Regions from separate parts of the Homo sapiens genome. Here all the other regions are linked to region 1. Evidence: promoter capture Hi-C in human tissues and cell types (Jung and others, 2019). All regions are on one chromosome and are shown on one strand. The core of a region is centred on a gene start or on the middle of the fragment in contact, and the rest is flanking DNA. Distances in the headings are between cores, read along the strand shown.

The links. The method cuts DNA at HindIII sites, captures the fragments that hold promoters and counts their contacts. A contact is called where the count stands out against the background at its distance.
Region 2: a fragment that was not itself captured here is called in contact with the fragment with the promoter of ERMAP in region 1 in 1 of the 25 tissues and cell types used here (mesenchymal stem cells).
Region 3: a fragment that was not itself captured here is called in contact with the fragment with the promoter of ERMAP in region 1 in 1 of the 25 tissues and cell types used here (hippocampus).

The regions. Positions count from the first base shown.
Region 1 is chr1:42,815,714-42,818,515 of GRCh38, reverse strand. ERMAP (erythroblast membrane associated protein (Scianna blood group)) reads right to left here and starts at 1,394. Exons shown (of 12, transcript NM_001017922.2): 1 at 1,263-1,394. It overlaps SVBP (small vasohibin binding protein), which reads left to right and starts at 1,119. Exons shown (of 3, transcript NM_199342.4): 1 at 1,119-1,326; 2 at 1,936-2,085. The coding sequence starts at 1,972. RefSeq lists silencers at 976-1,265, 1,416-1,615, 2,176-2,245. The HindIII fragment of the contact is 4,586 bases long and covers 1-2,767 here.
Region 2 is chr1:44,632,611-44,635,412 of GRCh38, reverse strand. All of the region lies in intron 6 of RNF220 (ring finger protein 220), which reads right to left. LOC107984950 (a long non-coding RNA gene) reads left to right here. Exons shown (of 2, transcript XR_001738031.2): 2 at 1-175. Among named protein-coding and RNA genes, the nearest start is that of SNORD145, 37 kb to the left of the region's middle. RefSeq lists enhancers at 2,100-2,647, 2,717-2,802. The HindIII fragment of the contact is 4,886 bases long and covers 1-2,802 here.
Region 3 is chr1:43,950,029-43,952,830 of GRCh38, reverse strand. It overlaps IPO13 (importin 13), which reads right to left. Exons shown (of 20, transcript NM_014652.4): 2 at 2,678-2,802. Among named protein-coding and RNA genes, the nearest start is that of IPO13, 4.5 kb to the right of the region's middle. The HindIII fragment of the contact is 3,680 bases long and covers 1-2,802 here.

The DNA of each region.
Region 1 (2,802 bases), core at 145-2,644:
GACAGAGCAAGACCCCATCTATTTTTTAAAAATTAAATAAATAAAAAATAAACATTGTGCAGTAGATCTCTAGAACTTTTTCACCTTACAAACCTAAAATTCTATACCCTTTAAACAATTCCTCTTTTCCCTCTCTCCTAGCCACTGGCAGTCACCATTCTACTTTCTGTTTCTTAGACTTTGATTGCTTTAGATACTTCATATGAATGGAAACATGCAGTATTTGTCTTTTTGGGGCATTGTGCTCACTTTTAAGGCTTTTGATACCTAGTACTAAACTGACCTCCAGAAAGGCTGTTAACGATTTACAGTTTGACTGGAAGCGTGTGTCCATCTGGGCTGAGTTCATTGCTTGCTTAGCATCTATCAGTTGTTTCAATTCTTGCCAGTTTGATAGAGGAACAAATAGTGGACCCAAACAGGGTTTTACTTTGGATAAGGCCATTGTCCTATGAATCCTGGCTGAAATATTTGCTCCAGCACTTAGAAGCTGTGTGACCCGGGACAACTCACTTAACTTTTCAATGCTTCTGTTCCCTTATGTGTAAATGGGGATAATAATATACACGTATACATTATACACACTTATTATGAGGAATTAGTTAATAAATGTGAAGCTGTAAGAACAGTGCCTGGAATATAGTAAGCCCAAATGTAAGGTAGCTATTATCATTTTTGTCAATCCTTGCTAATGTAATACCTGGAAAATTACAGCCAGCTATTTTAATTTACATCTCCTCGGTAATCAGTTGAACGTGAATGTTCTCTGTATTTATACTGGCTATTGGTACTTCTGTCAAGATTTCCTTTTTCAAAGCACTGTGGCAAACGGGATCTCACTTGATCCTCCCAATAAACTCATGAATGAAGAAGGTGGCAATCATCAATCCCCACTTTTCGAATTAAGAAATTGAGCCTCGGAATTCGAATTCTGAGCAATTCCAATTCCAGGATTCGGATCTCACCCTCTAAAACCTAGTAGCTGTTGCAGAAAATATAACGGGAAAAAGCTTTGGTTAGCCGTAACCACCACCCACCCCGGTGTGGCTCCGCCCCTGCCCCGCCCCGGCACCGGCTTGCCCCGCCCCGCCCTCTACGCGGGTTTCCAGCCATCCTCTCTGCGCACGCGCGGCCGCTCCTGCGGGCGGAAGCCTCCTGGCGCTCGGCCCTGCGCCCCTCCCCCCGGCGCGCGGCCCCGCCCAGGACGAGGGGCGGTGGGCAGGCAGCGCTGGGTCCAGTGGTCGGGGGAAGGCGAGGATTACCCTCCCGGAGGCGTTGTCTGCGACTCGGCGGAGGCTCCAACTTCCAGTGGCCCGGTCGGGAAAGGTACAGACTCCCAAGCCTCTTGGTCGGCGGCTCCAGCGACCGCCATTTTCCTCCAGGAGAGGGAAGAGGGCAGGAGGCGGGGGCCGTCCCCTGGGGCCGGGCGGGCCGGGGCGGGGTCGGGGGGCCGGGCGGTGGGGGGCGGGCCCGGCTGGCTATGGGGCCCGGCCCCCTGGCCCCAGGAGCGGCTGCTGCGGCGGAGTTAGGCCGGCCGCAGTGGGAAAACCCTGGGCGCCCTCTGGGTCTCAGCGTCCCATTAGGACGGTTCCGCGCTGGGTGCCGCACGCCGCACAGTGGGCAACGCTTTCACAGGGGTCTTTGCATTTCACCCGCACACAGCAGCTCCTGGAGGGAGGCCAGGAAAACACTTAACCCATTTTGCAGACAGAAAACTAAGGCTCAAAGTGGGGAGGAGACTTGCCCAGGGACACCCAGCGAGGTTGTGGCCTTGGGACTCGGTTCCTACTCCCCCACATCCAGCGCCCTTGCCACCAGACCACTCTGCCTCACCTGGCAAAGGATGGGGCGGAGCTAAAGGATTAGAGGAGTAACTGGCAGGGTATTTTTTGTTTTGTTTTGTTTTGAAGATCTGCCTCTTTCTGTACCACCCAGATCAGAGCCTCCTAAGAAATATCCAGAAGTCAAGCCATGGATCCACCTGCACGTAAAGAAAAAACCAAAGTTAAAGAATCTGTCAGCAGAGTTGAGAAGGCCAAACAGAAATCAGCCCAGCAGGAGCTGAAGCAGAGACAAAGAGCAGAGGTGAGATTAAGGCGGAGGCTCTGTATGCCTGTAGTCTGCTGGAGATGATGCTGGAATAGAGAAACAGCAGAAAGGAGAACTGACAGCGAGCCATACTTGCCTCCAGGCAGGATGGGTGTTCTCCCAGGTTTAGAGGGGACAACACTGAGGTTCAGAATGGTGAGGTGGCAGCCCAGAATCACATGCCAAGTTAGTGTCAGAACCCCAGTCTGGTGCGGAGCTTTTGTGGTAAGAGACCCAAGGGAAGGAAGAAAGGAAAAAAAATGATATGTAAGGGGAAAGAAGGGGTCAGAATGAGAGAGAGCACGCAAGTGTCAGACACCCCCAGTACAGATGTTCTGGATTTGGTGCGGAAAGCAGCTACTCATGCCAGGTAGAGGCCCAAGCTTTAAACTCACCAGTGTGTTCCTTTGTTCTCTCAACGATTACAATCAACTTGAGAATAAAAAGCTTTAAACTTTACCCTGCCAATATTGAGCCACATACAGACATAAGTATTTTATTTTAGTATTTAATGTCAGGGAAAATCTTGCTGGTCTCTTTTTCCCTCTTTGTTTTGTTTATCTGTCTGCTTTGTTCATTTCCTGTCTTACATCCTTTTACTTCTCCATGGACAACTACTTTTTTTTATACTTTTACATTCAAATATATTAATAGATATCCTTGAACAATATACAGTAGTATTTTAAATTTTTACATTAATAAAATTCCTGCATT
Region 2 (2,802 bases), core at 101-2,600, 1.8 Mb before region 1:
TCATCTTGAAATACCTCCTGCTCCTTTGGGGACTGGGCTTTGCCAAGAGCACCTGGGGAGGAGACTGGTGCTAACTAAGCCAGTGAGTAAGTCCACTCTTTGGCTGCAGCTGGTGCAAGGTCTACCCATACCTTTCTATTTGCAGTGTTTAATAAAAATCCAGTGAGCAAAGACACTCCATGTTGCTAGGTATCTCTCCAGAAGGCCAAGACCATGAACTCTTTTGGTGTCAGGAAATACAACTCTAAAGAGCATCTCTTGACTAGAACCTAACCCCTCCGATGGCCTGACTTGGCCTGCTGTTCACTCATCAGCTAAATCCTCTTTGGTTCCTGGGCCAAGAGCCCTGAGGTACAGCTCCTAGCATCCCACCTAGAATCTTATCAGGAAGAATTTCTCTGAGGTCCACTAATCCCATTTCACAGAAGAGGAGACTGAGGCCCAGTCATAAAGGTAAGACGGTCTGGGTCAGACCTTTGGCAGCCAGGTCAGAAGGCTCAGGGAACCCTGAGAAGGCAGCCCTTATTGTGCCCACCCGAACCTGTTCCATCATTTCTAATCAGTACAGAGGGGCTGGCAGGCCCTGGAGGCAGAGGGCTGCCTGCCATGTTGTCCCACAGGGGGCTCAGTTCCAAAGTGCACACTGCAAGCCCACAACACTGCTAATTAATGCTGAGCAATGCAATCATTTCTAATTAGCTCACTAATCCCTCTCTGTAGCCCTCCTGTCACTGAAGCAGGAAGGGGTCAAAACAAGAAACTCTCTTCCCTCTAGTCCCTTCCAGAATGCCACAGCAGGATCAGAGATGGCTACTCTGGGACCAGACTGATGGGGAGTGGGGAGAGCCAGCAAAGGAGGGAAAGGTTCCCCAAAGCAGGGCCAGGAAGAACTTTCTCATGGACAGTGACCCTAACGGGAAGCTCATGAATGCAATCTAGGAGGGGAACACAGGTGAGAGCTGCTATGTTACAATTTAAGCTTCTACCGTGTGTCAGGCTCACAGCCAAGTACCTTACCCAAGGTAGCTCATTTACTACCACTTGCTGAAGCTAGATTGCATTATCCCATTTTAACAGATGAAGAAACCCAAAGCTTAGAGAGATCAAGGTACGTGTCCAAGTAGCTAAAAAGTGGCAAAGGCAAGATAGGAAACCAGAACTGACTTCACAACCTAGAATGCCCTCCTGTTTCAAGGGGACCTCCTAACTGAGCAGCATCAACAAAGACTGGTCCCAGTGAGTGTGCTAGGGCTCCAGCTCCTGCCTGTTGTGAGCCTGAGGCAGGGAGCTACTCCAACTCCAAAACAGAGCAACCCCAGAAAGACCCAAACCAAAAGGAAAGCTACCATCCTGCCAGAACTGGGCATGGAGTTTGAGGAAACTTGGTCTGTAGCCCAGTCCATCTCTTCACTTTCCTGTGTCTTCACTATAGGTGACATGACTGTGTCCTAGTGCCTCACTTGACTTTGTGGACACAGATCGAGAACTCTTCATTTTGGCTGCCCTAACTCTTGGAATCTCAGACTTAGGTAGCCTTGACACTCTAGAGCCAGGGCTGGGATGGAGAATGGACGTGAAACATCAGAAAGGCATTGAGCAAAGGACCCTGAGAGTTCTAGAAGTGTAGTAAGGAGCAGTGTGCCAACACAAAGCTTCCTCCCTACCATGCCTACACCAAGGGAATGCCTCCCTGGGGAAGAAGGTGCTGATGATACCACAATGTTCAATGACTAAGGAAACGAATCTCATGGAATGGTCAAGAAAGGCACAATACTGGATGCGCTCCTTGCTCAGGACACACAGGCCAGCAGATGATCCCTTGTTGTCCCTGGAAAGCACCCCAATGGACTGGGCTTCATCTGCAAATTCTCAGAGAAGGAAGGCAGGTTTGGTTTTCACCTTCCCATTCATCTTCTAAATCCTGAATTAAGCTTACCAAAGTGTGGTAGGGAAAGTTCTGTTCTCTATCCAGAGGCTACGTACGAGTAGGAAGAATCAAAGCATTTGCCAAGGAGGTAGCATGGCATGGTTGGAGAAACACGGGCTTTGGTGGGAAACAAACTTCAATTGAATCATGGCTCAGTTACATCCCAGCTGTGTACTTTTAAACAAACCACTTTCACCTCTCAGAGCCTGTTTTCTTATTCACAAAAGGTGTGTAATACTCTTCTCAGAGGCGTTGTGAGAATGGTGCTTAACATGGCGCCAGCCCATCATGAATTTCTCCCTTTTCCAGACTAGGGCTCAGCCTGGCAGCAGAAACCAAGTGATAAGAGCTGGGGATCTTGAACTCCATGGCCTCTCTCACTTACCAGCTGACCCAGAGACCCTAAACCCCTTACAGCCACCCCCCAGATACCACACCCCAGTAAGCACAAAAAGCTAGGATCATTCAATTGTATTCAGCAAACAGGAATGCTCCAGAGGTTTGAATCCAAAAGGGGGGCTGCTAGGTAGTGCATACACGGCCTGCTTTCAGAGAAGGCCTCTAAGAGCTGTCGAGCCCACGCTGATCACCTTTGTGAAATGTGGGCCGACTGATAACTCAAAGAGCCCTGGGATGAGTTAGTTCCTGTTGCCGTGGGAACTCCAGATCTCACTGTATTGTCAAGTCTCAGCAGAGGGGCTGTATTCACACTACTGGGCACTGATTAAAAACTGGAAGAAAAACATTCTCAGCGCCCTGCAGGTTTGTATAGTGAGGTCCCAGCAGTTTGCAAATTCAAAGCTGAGCTCCCGAGTAGAATTGTGTAGCTCGTTCCTCATTCTCCGGCACTTATTGCCCCCCCAGGGTTCTTCAGG
Region 3 (2,802 bases), core at 148-2,647, 1.1 Mb before region 1:
ACTGCCGTTTACAGAGTATATAGGAACCATGCTAAAAGCTTCACATTCTCTTATTTAATCCTCATACCGAAACAATCTTTTATTTTTTAAAATCAACCCAATATTTTATTTAAAGTTTCAAAAGGCAGTGATTAAGCACATTATCTATGTGTGTGTGTGTATCATATACATATAAATATATGTATGTATACACACACATATATATATAGGAAACCAACTCCTTTTCAAATTTAGCCACTGAACAACTAGGCCCACTTTCTATTGCATGATTCCAGTTCTACTTCTTATGACCAGTACTAAAAGTAAACAGCCTTAATCCATTTAATAGTAACTATGTTTCTCTTTAAAAAAATGAACAGTTGGCCAGGCATGGTGGCTCATACCTGTAATCCCAGCACTTTGGGAGGCGGAGGCAGATGGATCACCTGAGGTTAGGAGTTCAAGACCAGCCTGACCAACATGGCAAAACCCCGTTTCTACTAAAAATACAAAAATTAGCTGGGCGTGGTGATGCACGCCTGTAATCCCAGCTATTCTGGAGGCTGAGGCAAGAGAATCGCTTGAACCCGGGAGGCGGAGGTTGCAGTGAGCCGAGATTGTGCCACTGCACACCAGCCTGGGTGACAGAGTGAGACTCTGTCTCAAAATAAATAAATAAACAATTACCATTAACTGATCACATAAAGTATAAAGGTAGAACATATACACACAGTTCCCATTTTAAAACATGTAACGTATCAATAACCCAAAGGTACAAATGCATGCTACTGACCATCCCAACCCTAGCAGAGACCACAAAAGAACTCCCATTACTCAAGGAGTCAAAATATTCTCTACCGAACACCAGGGGCAGGACTTGTGCACATTATCCTGTTTAAACCTTTTCAACTCTGTGGGGTTGATATGATCATCCCCATTTTATTGATGAGGAAACGGAGCCTTAGGAATGGCTGATCCAAGATTTCAGATCTAATAAGTGAACCATCTGGGATTCAAACTTAGATGTGACTAATGCCAAGGCTTGAGTCATCAGCCACTCTTCCATGAAGTCTCTTTCAATGGTTTTCCCTTCCAATTCTGCCAAAGGTCCCAAAGCCCCATCTCTGAAATGTCAGCATCAGGACCTCCAGTCTCACTTCTTCTAATCCAGCTCATACCAAAAGTCTCAGTAGGCCATTTTCTCTGCTTATAATCCTTTAATATCTTTATATCGTCTTCAGGATGAAGATCAAAATCTTAAACTTGGCCAAGGTCCTGCATGATCTGGGCCCAGGTCTCCTATACCTCTGGCCCTTAAATCTTGCTGTCTAATCACATCTAATGATTTACAGATCACCAGACCCTCTGGGCTTTCACCCTTCCCTTGCTTGGGCTGGAATGTCCTCCCCATCCATCACTTCCATCTGGCTAACTCTTACACAGCTGGGTTGTCACTTCCTCTGCGAATCCTTTCACAGCCCTCAGACTCAGTGAAAGCCTCCTCTGGGTTCTTCAAGGCCCCTGCGTTCTCCATCAGAGGATTCATCATGTTGATTGTACTTGCCACTCATGTGTCCACTAGACTGTGAGCTCCTGAGACTGAAGCTAAAGCATTTGTCTCTGTGCTCCCAGAGCTCAGCACAGGGCCCAAAACAGGACATGCTCAATGAACATTTGCCAAACACTTCACTACACTCACTTCTTTAGGGCCCTTGAATATATCATGATGCTGCCCACAAGTCTTTGCACATGCTGTGGTTCCTAAAGCCTAGAACAATCCACCTTCCTCCCCCAATCCCTTCCAGCCCCACCCCTCCCAACTCAGGCAACTCCTACTTTCCTCCATTCACAAAATATCAAATGCTACCATGTGCCGAGCACAATGCGACAAAGTAAAATGACAGAGTCCCTGTCCTCACAGAGGTGAGAGAAATCATGTTATGGGCTAAGAAGGAAAAATACTGGGAGCTCTGAGGTAATATAAGAGAGAAGATCAAACTTAGCCTTAAGAATCCATGGAGGACTTCCCTATGGAAATGAAGTTTAAGCTGAGGCAAGGTGTCAAGTATATGTAATGAGCCAGAGGCTGAAAGGAACATGGGACATTCAAGGAATTAAAGAAACTGTGTGAGCGTGTAGAGAGCAAGGAGAGTAGCATGAGATGAGGCCAGTGATGCCATACTGTGCAGCACCATTATGAGTCACATTAAGGATTCTGAGCTTTAACCTAAGAGCATTGAGAAGCCACTGAAAGCTTCTGATCAGAAAGATTAGATCCCCATTTTCAAAAGATCACTGTGGCTGCTGGGACAATGAAGGGTACAAGAGTGAGGACAAGCTCTACAGTAATCTGGGGAGAGAGATGATGACAGCTTGGACTAAGGTGGTAGCAATGGAAATGGAAAAAAATAGATTTGCAATATGGTCAGGAGGGGAACAGCCAGGACTTGGTGACTAGTTGAGAGAAGGAAAAGAGAGTCAAATATTTTAATTGAATAACTGATAATTAGTTGTTTAATGTCTGCCTCCCTGTCTGAACCATGAGGACAGGGACCATGTCTTCTTTGGTTCCTTGCTGTATCTCCAGCATAGGACCAGGTATCAGTACACATTCAATTAATGTTTATTGAACAGATGGATGGATGGATGTGTGGCTGGCCAAAGAGGTTGTCTTCTGGGTGAGTGGGTACTAGCTCACCTCTGGGCATCAGGCTGTGAGATGGCATTCACAATGGCCTCCACACTGCTGTCGAAGAGCTCCGAGTCCTGCAGAGCAGCAAAGGCAGCCTGAATGAGCGCCTCACAGTCCTGCAGCGGCACCTC